Regions from separate parts of the Homo sapiens genome. Here all the other regions are linked to region 3. The links are contacts of gene promoters, found by promoter capture Hi-C in blood cells and fetal thymus (Javierre and others, 2016). All regions are on one chromosome and are shown on one strand. Each heading gives the region's core, a stretch centred on a gene start or on the middle of the fragment in contact. The rest is flanking DNA. Distances are from core to core; before and after follow the strand shown.

Evidence for each region. The method cuts DNA at HindIII sites, captures the fragments that hold promoters and counts their contacts. A CHiCAGO score of 5 or more calls a contact.
Region 1: a contact is called between the fragment with the promoter of TMED4 here and the fragment with the promoter of MRPS24 in region 3, in 1 of 17 cell types (non-activated CD4 T cells). The highest score is 5.0, in non-activated CD4 T cells.
Region 2: a contact is called between a fragment that was not itself captured here and the fragment with the promoter of MRPS24 in region 3, in 3 of 17 cell types (naive B cells, naive CD8 T cells and total B cells). The highest score is 6.7, in naive B cells.

Annotation. Positions count from the first base shown.
Region 1 is chr7:44,579,020-44,583,566 of GRCh38, forward strand. TMED4 (transmembrane p24 trafficking protein 4) reads right to left here and starts at 3,212. Exons shown (of 5, transcript NM_182547.4): 1 at 3,028-3,212; 2 at 2,704-2,804; 3 at 2,430-2,555; 4 at 2,074-2,220; 5 at 1-609. The coding sequence starts at 3,187. The coding sequence ends at 460. RefSeq lists silencers at 2,836-2,935, 3,336-3,495 and an enhancer at 3,586-3,695. The HindIII fragment of the contact is 9,471 bases long and covers 1-4,547 here.
Region 2 is chr7:42,905,822-42,910,177 of GRCh38, forward strand. C7orf25 (chromosome 7 open reading frame 25) reads right to left here. Exons shown (of 2, transcript NM_001099858.2): 2 at 3,452-4,356. The coding sequence ends at 3,814. Among named protein-coding and RNA genes, the nearest start is that of C7orf25, 4.1 kb to the right of the region's middle. The HindIII fragment of the contact is 1,035 bases long and covers 2,532-3,566 here.
Region 3 is chr7:43,866,285-43,871,132 of GRCh38, forward strand. MRPS24 (mitochondrial ribosomal protein S24) reads right to left here and starts at 3,233. Exons shown (of 4, transcript NM_032014.3): 1 at 3,173-3,233; 2 at 3,024-3,092; 3 at 2,679-2,790; 4 at 274-698. The coding sequence starts at 3,211. The coding sequence ends at 415. It overlaps URGCP-MRPS24 (URGCP-MRPS24 readthrough), which reads right to left. Exons shown (of 7, transcript NM_001204871.2): 5 at 3,024-3,092; 6 at 2,679-2,790; 7 at 274-698. The coding sequence ends at 2,702. It overlaps LOC124901620 (a long non-coding RNA gene), which reads left to right and starts at 3,362. Exons shown (of 2, transcript XR_007060296.1): 1 at 3,362-4,550; 2 at 4,664-4,848. RefSeq lists silencers at 2,945-3,004, 3,305-3,364 and an enhancer at 3,595-3,714. The HindIII fragment of the contact is 8,402 bases long and covers 1-4,848 here.

The sequences.
Region 1 (4,547 bases), core at 1,962-4,461, 710 kb after region 3:
TCTAGGGCCAAGACCTGCCCCTTATTTACATTCACAAAGCCATTAAGTGAACCCAGAACTGACCAGCAGACAGTGAGGCAGGGCCTGCTCTGTGGCACATGCCAGTCACCTACTGCGTAAGTGGACAAAGAGAAAGCAGAAGGTAATGGAGAGAGTTTTCATTTGCTTATTTAGTGAAAAACAGAGGAAAATCACTCGAGGCAAAAGAAGCAGGACTGAGTCCTGGGTTAGTTCTGATTCCTCACAAGCCCTAAGACAAGATTTTGAAAGATTGGACTAATGTCATGTGTCCTTAAGAACCAGGGTCAGCAAGTGGCTGATCTGAATGGTTTGTGGCCATGGAACCAATGTGACTTATTCTTTTTCATTTTTTTCCCTAAAAATCCAGGTGGATAAAGGACTGTGTGGGGAAAGTACCAAATAAATGAGGTAAAAAGGAAGGGTCATACAAAGAGGGCACTACACCAGCTTCTTGGCCTCAAAGAAGCTCTTGAGGTGACGCATCTGCCAGATGCCAGTGAGGATGAGGATGACAGTCTGAGCAATGGACCACCATAGGACCCTCTGGTTGGTGCTCTCGCTCGTCAGTCGGAAGCGCTCTTCACGATACTGTGTGGGGCAACACAGGGTTAAGTGAGCAGGAGAAACAGTCTGGCTGTTGTGAGGTCCCTCCCTGCGTGTAATTACTCAACTCCAGGACCAAACTCCTTTTGGAATACTATCTGTGACTCCATTAGGAGTGCTATGGTCTCCCCACTGAGGCTGCCCCAAGAAAGGGACAGGCTGTCCCTCCACAAGCATCTCTGTTAGGACTGAAATCATGATCCTACCATTTCCAACAAGAGTCCAAGAAAAACAGGTAGGCAATGGCTATTACTAGATTGTGAACTGTCCTTTCTTCATTTTATTTTATAGAGCTTAAAAATGACTACTGAAAGCGAAATGTGGCACATGCATACAATGGAATATTAGCCTTAAGAAATTCTGACACATGCTATAACATGGATGAACTGTGAGAACATTATACTCAGTGAAATAAGCCAGTCACAAAAGGACAAATACTGAATGATTCCACTTATATGAGATAGGGTAGTCAGGATCATAGAGACAGAAAGTAGAATGGTGGGTGTCAGGACAAAAGGAAACGGGAAGTTATTGTTTATAATAAGTACAGATTTGCTGGGTGCAGTGGCTCACGCCTGTAATCCCAACACTTTGGGAGGCTGCGGCAGTGGATTGCCTGAGGCCAGGAGTTCAAGACCAGCCTGGCCAACATGGTGAAACCCAGTCTCTACTAAAAACACAAAAATGAGCCACGCATGGTGGCACTTGCCTGTAATCCCAGCTACTTGGGAGGCTGAGGCAGGAGAATCGCTTGAACCTGGGAGGCGGAGGGTGCAGTGAGCCGAGATGGCGCCACTGCGCTCCAGCCTGGGCAACAGAGCGAGACTCCATCTCAAAAACAAAACAAAATAAGTACAGATTTTTAGTTTGAGAAGATGAAAAAGTTCTGGAGCTGGATGATGGTGTTGGTAGCACAACATTATGAAGGCACTTAATACCACTGAACTATATAGACAGTTAAAATGACACATTTGGTGTTATATTTTACCACAATAAAATGTTTTGATAAAAAAGCAAAACAGGCAGGGCGCGGTAGCTCACACCTGTAATCCCAGCACTTTGGGAGGCTGAGGCGGGCGGATCACTTGATGTCGGGAGTTCGAGACCAGCCTGACCAACGTGGAGAAACCCCCGTCTCTACTAAAAGTACAAAATTAGCCAGGCATGGTGGCGCATGCCTGTAATCCCAGCTACTCAGGAGGCTGAGGCAGGAGAATCGCTTGAACCTGGGGAGGCGGAGGTTGCAGTGAGCCAAGATCATGGCATTGCACTCCAGCATGGGCAACAAGAGTGAAACTCCGTCTCAAAAACAACAAACAAACAACCTATCTAAACCAATACTTCTCATTCCATTCTCTGCAGAGCTGATCTCCCAAGCAGAAACTTGAGTAGGTATAGTGGGTATAAAGGTCAACTGCCCTCTCAAATTACAAGGAGATATGCACTTGCCCTTTGGTAATCCTGCTCCTTCTGAATCTGTTCCACCTGATCAAGCAACTGGCGGGCGCGGAGCTGTAGCTCCGTCAGCTTATCTTTTGCAGCAATCTCAGGGTAGTTGTTGGCATGCTCCCCAACCTGGATGTCGAGATGCACCCGCTACAAGGAAACATGGAATGTATGAGTGGTGGGGCCTCCAGTTGTCTGTTCCAGGGTATGGAACCCACTATTGTCCCTGGCTGTGGAGCAGAAGGCAACATCTGTCTCCCCAATTCTGACTGTGCTACAAAGTTTCACAATCTTGATAAATCAAAATTTGGAAACAAGTGAGAGATTCTAAGCTGAAGCCAAAGAGAAAATCCTCTTACCAGTTTGCCACCAGCGAAGAGAGCCATCCTGGTAGAATTGGAGTGCAGACAGATTTGATGGTCACCGGGCGTGTGGGAGGTGAACGTGAAGCGGCCCTCCGAGCCGTACTGCCGGGACAGCACCACCTGCAACATATGTGAGTGAAGGCCCCACCTTTATACCGCAGGCTCTCCAAGTGCAAGTTCCTGTCCCTTGAGGCCTCCTCCAGGCAGTGCTTTACACCCCACGGGAGCTCCACTGAAGAACGGCTGCGTGGGCCAACGCCAGCCTTACCTTGCCGTCGGGGTCCTTCACTTCCACGTGCATGCCCAGGCCAGGGGTCGAGGGCAGGAAGACCTCCTTCTGCTTATCCCACATCTGGGTACGATAGTTGCCTGCGGGGCAGACACATAGTCACGACCGGCCCTAGTGGGCCGCCTCTCCGCCCGGCCCCCTCCGACGTGCGGCCCGGAGCTCTAGGCAGGGGGCCTGGCGTCCTCGGGGCACCCTCAGGCTAGGTACTGGGGGAGCCAGCGACCCGGCTGGGCTCGGGAGGAGGGAGCGCCGCCGAGGGCTGAGCTGGGTACAAAGGGCCTCCCCACCCTCAGCCCGCCTGACCGATGACCATGGTCTCGTCGGGGATTTCCTCGATGAAACAGCGCTTCTCGGTCTCGCCGATGTGGAAGTAGAGCCCCTGGGCGCCTGTGGCGCACAGCGCGAGAAGCAGCAGGGCCTGCCGCCCCATCGCCCGCAGAGGCCCAGCCCCGACACCTGCCATCGCGCCTCAGCCCCTAAGCGCCTGCGCACATTTGCGCATCGCTCTGCGCCTGCGCGCCACCCTAGCGACCCTGAGAGTTAGGGGAAGAGGACGCCTGCGCAGTGATATGTACTCGCCGTCTCCTGCAACTCCATCCGTACCGAACACTGCCGCGCCCCGCCCCCTCACACAGCCCGGCGCCCGCCTACCCCCGCAACGAGAGTAGAGGGCGCATGCGCAATGACGTTCGCCCTTAATTTCTCGCCCCTTACCCCGCAGCTTACCTCCGGCATCTCGCAGGGGAGGCACGCCTGCGCAGTCACGCCCGCCCTCGGCCCCAGTCAGCGATTTGGGTCTCGGAGCACCAAGGAGACGGTGGACGGAATCTGACCAGGCTTGGTGGCTACGATGGCCTGAAGCGTGCCTTTTGGGTTCTCAGCTCGGGCTCACAAGTGTTTTCTGTGCTAAATACAAAAAGCCCTGTGATGTTTTGCTTTGCGTGTCCACCTATCTGACTCGTAAGAACCGAGGCTGAATCCAGACCCACACTCTGTCACGTCGGGAGAGCCTGCCGCGGCGAGCCTCTGCGAGCGGGCATTTCTTGGGTGGGGACCAAAAGCCCAGTGCTGCCATAGTTTCGGATCATTCTTTTAAGAAGCTGGGGCCGGGCGCGGTGGCTGGCACCTGTAATCCCAGCACTCTGGGAGGCTGAGGCGGGCGGATCCCTTGAGCCCAGGAGTTCGGGACCAGCCTGGGCAACATGGTGAAACCCCCGTCTCTACAAAAAATTAACCGGTGTGGTGGTGTGCGCATGTAGTCCCAGCTACTTGGGAGGCTGAGGCAGGAGAATCGCTTGAACCCAGGAGGTCGAGGATGCATTAAGCAGTGATCGCGCTCCAGCCTGGGCGACCGAGGGTGATACCTTGTCTTAAAAAAAAGGTGGGAGAGTGGAACGAAAACTTGGAATAAGTAGGGTCATGGAGCTTGTTTACATCCCCTAGTTACAGCACATCCTTTTGAAAGTGAAAAACAAACTGGAATGTTACTTAGTGGGCATGGAATCGAAGCAACGGAAGGTTAAAACTGTTTTTATCAAGGCCAGGCGGGCGCGGTGGCTCACGCCTGTAATGCTAACACTTTGGGCGGCCAAGGCTGGTGGATCATCTGAGGTTAGAAATTCGAGACCAGTTGGGCCAACAAGGTGAAACCCCCGTCTCTACTAAAAATACATTTTATCAACAGAATTTCGAAACTTTTATATAATAGAATAATTACAATGAACTTTCATAAAGAACTTGAGCATACCTGGATTTTGGTATCCGTAGGGGTCCAGGAATTATCCCCCTTGGATAATAACGGAGGGCTGTACTCATCATCCAAC
Region 2 (4,356 bases), core at 1,799-4,298, 960 kb before region 3:
GAGTCAAGAAACACCCCATGGGCTTCAGTCCCATACCCAGGCCCTGTTCTCAAACAGGAGAGCAGGCCAAAGTTCTCCTCTTGGGGCAGAGGACAGGGAGTAAGAGGAACAACACATCTTACCATGTTACATTTCAACCCCACTTACGGGGTTATGCTCCATATTACCTTTTAGAGCACGGGGATTATTCGGTATTTAAAAGTAGGAAAAAACTTGTCTAATAAAGTTAACTGCATCTGCACATATTTTGGAGAAATTACTTAACTTCTTTAACAATTTTTTAAATGGTTATTGCTTATTTAGGCTATTTTTCAATTCTAATTTACATTTCCTGAAACAGTCATCTGTTCCAATGAGATTTCCCAGTATATCACAATTATCTATATATCTCCCTCCAAAGCTGTTTTATATCCTTCCTGTGCTTGCAGCTAGCACTCTTATTTTATGCTTTCTGCTTTTTATGCCTCATTCACAATTCTTTTATCTTTTTCTTTTTGAGACAGGGTCTCACTCTGTTGCCCAGGCTGGAGTACAGTGGTACAACCAAAACTCACTGCAGCCTTGACCTCCCAGGCTCAGGTGAGCCTCCTGCCTCAGCCTCCCTGGTACCTGGGACTGCAGGAGTGCACTACCATGCCTGGCTAATTTTTGTATTTTTTGTAGAGCGGGGTTTTGCCATGTTGCCCAGGCTGGTCTTGAAGTCCTGGGCTCAAGGGATCCACCCTGCCTCAGCCTCCCAAAGTGCTGGGATTACAGGTGTAAGCCACAGCGCCCAGCCTGACCTGTCTTTTTCTATATGGACTACATTTATTCTCCATCCTCACCTTTTGTTTGGAATTTATTCAGCTATTCAGCTTGGTTTAATTTATACTATCAGTTATATTTCCTGTTTGACACTCAAAACTAAATAGCTCTATTTTTCAATAGCAAAATTTCAAAGTGTCTGTTGACTCTAAGTAAGATGAGGATTTTTAGCATGCTTTTACTTTCCTCAACCACTTCCAATTCCCAGGCATAACGACAGTTTATTACGTATCTTCACACTTTAGAACTATTTGGACATTTGTTTGCTTTATAGCTATAGCTCTGTGATTCCTTTGACTTACCAGTTAACTGATATTTAATTGAACATTCCTTTTATAACTTCCCTCATTGTTTTTATTGTCTCTTTTTTTTTTTGAGATGTAGCCTCGCTCTTGTTACCCAGGCTGAAGTGCAATGACGTGATCTCGGCTCACTGCAACCTCCACCTCCCAGGTTCAAGTGATTCTCCTGCCTCGGCCTCCTGAGTAGCTGGGGTTACAGATACCCACCAACATGCCTGGCTAATTTTTGTATTTTTAGTACAGACAGGGTTTCACCATGCCAGCCAGGCTGGTATTGAACTCCTGACCTCAGGTGATCTGCCCCTCAGCCTCCCAAAGTTTTGGGATTACAGGTGTGAACCACCACATCCGGCCTTTATTGTCTAATATTTTACCTTTATGAAAGGAATGTTTTGGCCAGCTGGAATAGACCTTGACAGTGTAGATCATGTGTGTGGTCTCTAGGGAAGGTGCTATTTCTTACATTCCAGGATCCAGTGCCCTACTACTTGAGCATATGTACTGCTTGCATTATTTATTACATTGTTAGGAGTTGCAATCACTGGAATGCTTGAAAAAACATCATGGTCTTTGGCAGGGCACAGCTGTGGTCACTTCACAAAGCAGTTTCCTAAAGAGTGCTGTGGCCTGTCCACTTTCTAGTTGGCAAAGATCCCAAGTTCTTAGGTATTGATTGATTCATAGGGAGCAGGGATAGAAATCTACCTTCTTTCTGCTCCTTTAAAACAAGTCTTTTATATGCCATGCCCTTTGTACTGTGTCTGACACATGGCTGTCACTCAATGCTTATTAAACGAATGAGTACATTAATATGTCAATTCTGCCTCAAACAAATCCAACATGTATCCATGACTCTACAGTCCATCATTCCTGCTCTAGCTAAGGTCATTATAGTCCAAACTTTCTTTCAATTTTTATCCACACTACAGATTTTTGTGGTTTCCTTAAGAGACCTGATCATAAGCCACACTTTCTTAAAAATCACCAATGGCTCTCTAATGCCAAACTCTTTAGAGAACTTTGACTTTTTTTTCTAGCTCCATCTTGTTTTATAAACTGTCCACTTGAGCCTGGTCCCTGAACAGGTCCTCATAGTCACAGTTCTGGTACTTTTCCAATCCCATTCCTCCATGTACTTTTGAGTACCCTTTCTCACACATCTTGTGAAATTTCACACCCCAAACCCTCAAACAACACTTCCTCTCTGACTTCCTGGCCCCATAACAAGTACTCCTTTACTCTGTCCCCATAGTATTTTCAACATATCCTAGAGAATTTAGTACATTTAATTGCACTTCAGTTGTTTACTTCCACTTTAGACTTAAGAATTCCTTAGAGCAAACATTCATCTTTTCACACCAAACTATTATAATGCTTGGTACTTAATAGTATCAAGTACTACATGACCTTAATAGATGCTCAAAAAGCTTAAATTCCATTTCTAACACTAGACATATACCACTCTACACTAAACTGGAAGCAAATCACAGCCTTTCTACTAGAAAATGTATTCTGACTTAGTAAAGCAATCTCTCCCCAGAGAACCACCCCCATACACTTAATTTTGCATTCATTTCAGGGTGTTCATGAATGCCAATAACCAAATTCCACCCCAACAAACACTGTGGCTGTAAATTGAGATTCTCTTCTCAACAAATACGACATTTGGCATGGTAGAAAGAGATCAGACTGTGGCTAGAAACATCAAGTTTTAATACCAGCTCCTACACTTAGCATGAGTTAATATTTAAGCTCCAGGACTCAAATTCCAAATTTTTAAATGTGGTGAATACATACCGACTTTGCTAGTTTTGCTTTATTGAAAACTGATAAAGTATCTAGCGCAATGTAGCCATAGAAGTGTATTTTTAACTACAACTTGTGTCATGGAATTGGCATGGAATATTCTGTCACCATCTCATGAAAGTAAGGTAATGCAGTTGTCACTTGCCACTTGCAAATGAAACATGAAAATAGTATTTATTGTTCAAATACTTATAATATGGGGGCTTTCTGTATTGAATTTTTAAAATCTTTTACATAATCCTTTTTCAATTCATTCAAATTAGTATTTTACCTTAAGTGTCCTGGTTTTATCTTATAGTAGTAAGATTGTTGGCTTTCTTTTCACAAAGGTCTACCAATGGGTTCATGGCACTCAAATAACCATAATTCACTTTCTCATTTCTTCTGTATTATGTACTTTTTGTAAAAACACCTATCAGACTGCACCTGACATACAGCAAATAAGTTTTTCATTAATGGTTAACCTTAGAATCTAAAATTGATTACCAACGACTACCTCCCAGCCTAAACCATATAAAGCAATACAATGAAAAACAGGCTTGAATTTTCTCCAGATATTTAATGCAAGATGCAATGTAGCCATATTCCATGAAATGTGGTTAGCAGTAGGGGAGTTGTAGCCCTATCGAATCAAAGTATTACAATACAGCTGAAAGCTTTATATAGACGTATTTCGGTTCTTAATTGCACTAATGCAGACAGTTTGATAGATAAGCTTCTCTCTTGTGCTTTTTCTACTTTGGGAGGTTATATACTTTAGATGAGAGACAAAGAAACTCTACTGGTTTAAGAGTTCTCAGTTTTACTTTTACTATAGACCTTTTTTCCCACCAGTTTAGATGGGAAGACCCAGCCTTTGGTATAAATAACTTACTTCCACAAAAATATTTAAAGGGTATCTTTAGTGTTCACTGTCAGTTGTGTAGTCTTTTGGTAAGGGGGTGGCTAGAGCCTCTTTACTCTCAGTAAGTGCTCTGGGCTGATGGATAAACACACTAAATTTAACACCCTGGTTGTTTGCAGCTCTGACAAAACCACTATTAGCAGTCATTGTGATGGCTTTTAGGGTGTCTCCCGTCCCAAAAATTGTTAATGAGCGGCTATTAATTTTTGAACTGGCCACTAGTCTCAAGGCACGCTCAGAAGGCTGGTCTGGTACCACATTAATTCGCTTAATTAACACAGTGGCCCTCTCTCTCTCCCCAGGTCCTCCTAAGGTATCTAAAATAGACTGAAAGTCCTTGACAGCAGATTCACAAGCAAACAACTCCTTGTCCTTCATAAAGGCCTCCAGCTGAGGTAGAACCTGCTCTTTCCTCTCTTGCTCTGCTTGTTCTGTGAGCACTTTCTCTTTGAAAATAAAGTGGCAGCCTCCATAGCTGAGGGCAGATACATATGTGATTAAAGTAGTAATGTCCAGATTTACTCTTTTGCACACATCGAC
Region 3 (4,848 bases), core at 1,983-4,482:
CAAAGTGCTGGGATTACAGGCGTGAGCCACCGTGCCCAGCCTGTTTTGATTCTTAAAAACTAACACTGAATGGGTCTTTCCATCTTGAGAAAAAACAAAGAACTTTTAGGCAAAGTGCTTGACAGAGTGATTGATTGGCACAGGTACTCACCAAACTGTAGCTATGAATTAAACTTCAAACAACTGGCGTCAGCCTTCCTGCAAACCCTGGAGCATCGTCAAAGAAACGCTACTCTAGTTCCCTCATCCAAGAGTAAAAACAGAGAGGCAAGACAAGATAGAAGGTCTTTATTCAATAGCAGATGAGAGACTATGCCTCAGTCCTCTGAGGGGATGCATTTCCCCCACATACCATTCCTTTCCCACGTTTCCATTCTCTGCAGGCTACAGCTTGATGGAAAAAAGGGGATTGTTCTAGAGGTACTTATACACAACCTTTGAGGGCACAGTTTGGAGGTGGAGTCGCACAGGACATTTGTAAAAGTAGGACAGCAAAGTTTCACTGTAGCCCACGAGGAAGTAGTACTTGTGTGGAGACAACTGCCTCAGGACCACGGCACAGATCTCCAACTGGTTACCCCGGCGCTTTAAAACCAGCTGGTCAGCCAGGCAGCCTGGGAAGGTACCCCACATGAACTTGCGAAGGAAAACATCCTCCACCGTTCGCTCTGCGGCATGGTCCTCTCCATCCAGGTTACCTGAAGAGGGAAGGGCATAATAGAAGAATCAGCCTCATTGCCCCAGGGCCCTGCCATAACTCCAGAGTCAACATCCAAAAGCGCTGAGCACAATCCCACCCTTCACCCCCAGCCTCTTCTCTTTTCTTCTGCTAATGGAATAAGAAAAATAACACTTTAAAGTTCAAAGTATGTTATGTCATTAATTCCCAAGCCAATTCAGTTTAGTAGGTATTATCATTATCCTTATTTTACAAAAAGGAAGATGGAGGCCTGAGTCAGGGTACAAAACTCAAGATGATGCCACCACATCTAGCCCCTTTCCTGCTTTCTTGGCTGCCTTATAAAAACACTGGTCATCCCATGGGCCAGAAAGATGAGGCTACCAGCTATTTTTGAGATTAGGGACATGAGCTAGGCCCAGGGCTTCCACCAGTGGGTTCCTCAGTGTGAACTGTGGATCCCCTGCAGCCCTTACAATGTCCACTAAGAGTCTGCACACCTACATCCAAACCTCAGACCAGAACCTGAAAGAGTGGGAGACAAGCATCTCTCTCTCTTTTTTTTTTTTTTTTTTTTTTTTTTTGAGATGGAGTCTCACTCTGTCGTCCAGGCTGGAGTGCAGTGGCGTGATCTCGGCTCACTGCAACCTCCGCCTCTTGGGTTCAAACAATTCTCTGCCTCAGCCTCCTGAATAGCTGGGATTGCAGGCGCCCGCCACTACGCCCAGCTAATTTTTTTGTATTTTTAGTAGAGATGGGGTTTCACCATCTTGGCCAGGTTGGTATTGAACTCCTGACCTCAGGATCCACCCTCCTCGGCCTCCCAAAGTGCTGGGATTACAGGCGTGAGCCACCGTGCCAGGCAAGCATCTGTATTTTAAGTAAGTTCTCTAGATGCATCTCAAACATCCAAGAACCCCTGTACTAAACAAAGCACAGTTGGTTATCAATTGTTCACAATAGTTATATTCTATAAAGTCACTGCCAACACTGACTTAGTGAATACTGAACCATTGCTCCTAGGTGAAATACAGGGTTAGATTCCTTTCAGCCTCTGGGCACCGTATTTTTGTTAACAAATCAATACATAACCTAGTTTCCTTTGTGTTTCTGTTTAAAGACACCTTGTTTAATATATATGGTAGATTCACTAACATTGAATTCAGGGCCAAGAGCAACTCATGACTGAAGAAAGATTCTCTAATACATGTATGTTCTCCCTAAGGCACGTCACAGCCTTCTCCCGCTTAGGAACACTAGATAGCACTTCAGCATTGCAAGGCCATTTTAAACAGCAAAATCACTAACAAAAAGCACGAAAATGCAAATTAAAAAAAAAAGATTCTAGACCATAAAAAGGACACCTTTTACAGTACGAGAGCTGAAACTAGGCAGAGCCTTGTCGACCTCAGCTCGGGACATGCACCTGGGGTGGCAGCTCCACCCACATCTCAGAGTGACCTTGAGAGTGCCCAGAGTGTTGATTTGGGGCTTACAAATAAATTTTAGTCAGTAGAAGAATCTGAAAATATGGAATTCATGAATAACGAGGGTTGTCTGTATATATTTACAGAGAAAAATTTGTGCTTTAGTGGAAAACTGCATTCCTTAGAGCACACTGTTCAGGGTTATCAGATTCTGCAACGGTTTCACTCCTTTCCTTGACTCTGAGCTATTTTACAGCTCTGTAAATTACAGATAACTGACAGGAATGCAAAATAATTCTTGTCTGTAGACATGCAAATAATTTCTGTTCAGTGGAGGATCAATTGAGTCCCTGCCTGCCATGGAAAAAGTCAGTTTTGCATCCATCTTCAAATTTGTTTCAACATCCTGATCTATATATATCTCTGCTTTTTTATGTCTCCCTTGAGTTGGTTTCATAGATTTCTGACCCTAGCATTATTTCCTGAGTTAAAGAAAACCTGTGACACGTGTTCATTTTGTTTACATGACAGTCGGATTGAGTGCTCCTTTTGGAGGCCTGGGGTCCGCTCACCTGTGTGCAGCGACAGCCAGCCTTTACGGTGGGCGATGTAGTGCGGCGCGTGTGCCTCCTCGTAGGTCACCGGCTTGTCCCCCTTGCTTACGCGTACTCGGGCCGCCCGGTTCTAGGAGCAAAAGGGGCCGTGACTCCACGAGATCCCCGATCCAGACCCCTACTTCGCGCCATGTCCCCCCAGTCAGCTGGCACTGTTCCCCGGCCCCAATCCCCTGATCCCTAAGCCCCGACCCTAGCCCCGCCTCGGACCCCAGCGACACGCCCCCTTCAGCCCGCACGGCTTCCCCGGCCCCCGGCCCCCCGGCCCCCAGGCCCCCAGGCCCCTGCCCCGGCGGTGCTCACCTTGGCGCAGACCGGGGAGGTGTGCAGGGCGCGCCAAGCGCAAGGCAGCTCTCGGCTCCAGGACAGCACCTGTGGAGGGAGGGCGCGTGAGGCGGAAACTAGGGACCCCACCTCCGACTCGCAGGGACCTGCCGAGTCGCCCCACTCACCCGTGGCCCCAGCAACCCGCTGCACACGGAGGCCGCCATCTTGGGCCAAGCGGAGCGCGGGACGTACCACAGCGCGCTGAGGGGTGGGGACGACCGCGGACGAGACCAAGTCGGAGCTCGTACTCTGTACTCTGGCGGGGGCGGGGCAGGGCCTCTGCGGGGCGGGGCCGCGGTATGCTGCTAGCTGTTACTCCCGCCTTCCCCGCAGCCCTGTGAATGCTCAGCCTTGTGAATGCTCATCCCGCCGCTGTTCGCTCTCCCGCGGTTGCTGCTTGCATAGGGTTTCAGATCCGGAAATTTGAGGATGCGAAACGTGAGATTTTCTCTTCGACAACCTCACGCTAGTACGGGTGATGGGTGTGCGGCCCACCGGAGCCCGCCCTGCCCAACCTGCACCCTCGGGGCTCGAAGAGGAGCCAAGCGTTTCCCCAGGTCCTAGTTATGCCTCCAAATAATATTCGTAGAAAAACAAAACAGAAAAACCCTCCAGACTTTTATCCACAAATAAAGAAGAAACATATTTTGGTTAAAACGTCACCCAATTCTTCAAGGATGACTTACGCAGTTATGCAAGAATGGGTTTGCCACATGTGACCACAGTGGTGACTGGCCCCTGAGGAAGGAAAATTTTAAGTACGGGGAAGGGGCCGGAGGGCAAGGAGATTCGTGAGAATATCGCAGGGCCTGTAATGCTGAAACCAGTGCGTCGCCACTATTATTGGTATCCAGTAATTATTAATGTCAAACGGAAAAATAGCAACGCGGGATATTTTATTTTAGAAGTCACCACGGTCATGGAAAAAACACGGGCTCTGGAGTCAGACCCATGTATAACAATCTTTGTACAGTTAAGACTCAGTTCTATTATCTATAAAATGGGCCTTAATAATAGTACTACCTTATAGAGCTATTAGGATCAAGAGAATATTTAATCAATGATGGGTTGTGTTTGGTTGAGTGATGTGAAATTGCCAATGTTTTGGCCGTTCTGGGTCTACATCATTCCCCTTAATGGTACAGTACTTGCATACTGCTGCGGTTTCCTGTCAGGGGGAGGACTGGATTATGATCCATGGGAAGGGGAAATGGAAGAACGGTGGAAATGAGTTGCCCATGACCACACTGAGAAGAGGGAAAGAGGGACCAAGACACAAGTCTCTTGACTTCAGTCCAGCCCATTTCCCATGACCAAGATTCCTCTGATTACATGAAGGTGGGTTCTCAAAAAACCCGTAATAAAAGGACAAGGTCTTCCATGTCCACTTCACCAGAAATGTTTTATTCTTACTTTTTAGGAACTGCGGCCCCCAACTGTTATGCATATTGAATAAAGGGACAGAACAGGGATGAGGTGCCCTCCAATGCATACTTTGCAAATGTAAGAACTTTCAACATTTCCTAAGAAATCCTTTTCAACTGACAATTATTTTTTAAAGTTTTCATAATGTTCAATAATTTTATAATTGTTAAGTTTCATTAATTTGCTCCAAGGTGGTGAGGAACATGGGATGTGGCATCTGAATTGCCTGAGTCCAAATCGTGGACCCAATGCTTCCTGGCTGTGTAATTTGGACAAGTGACTGAACCTTCTGAGCCTCGGTTTCTCTCATCTGTAAACTGGGGACAATAATGGTGGTTGTGAGAAGTACAGTATGATGTGCCTGGCAGAGGGAGAG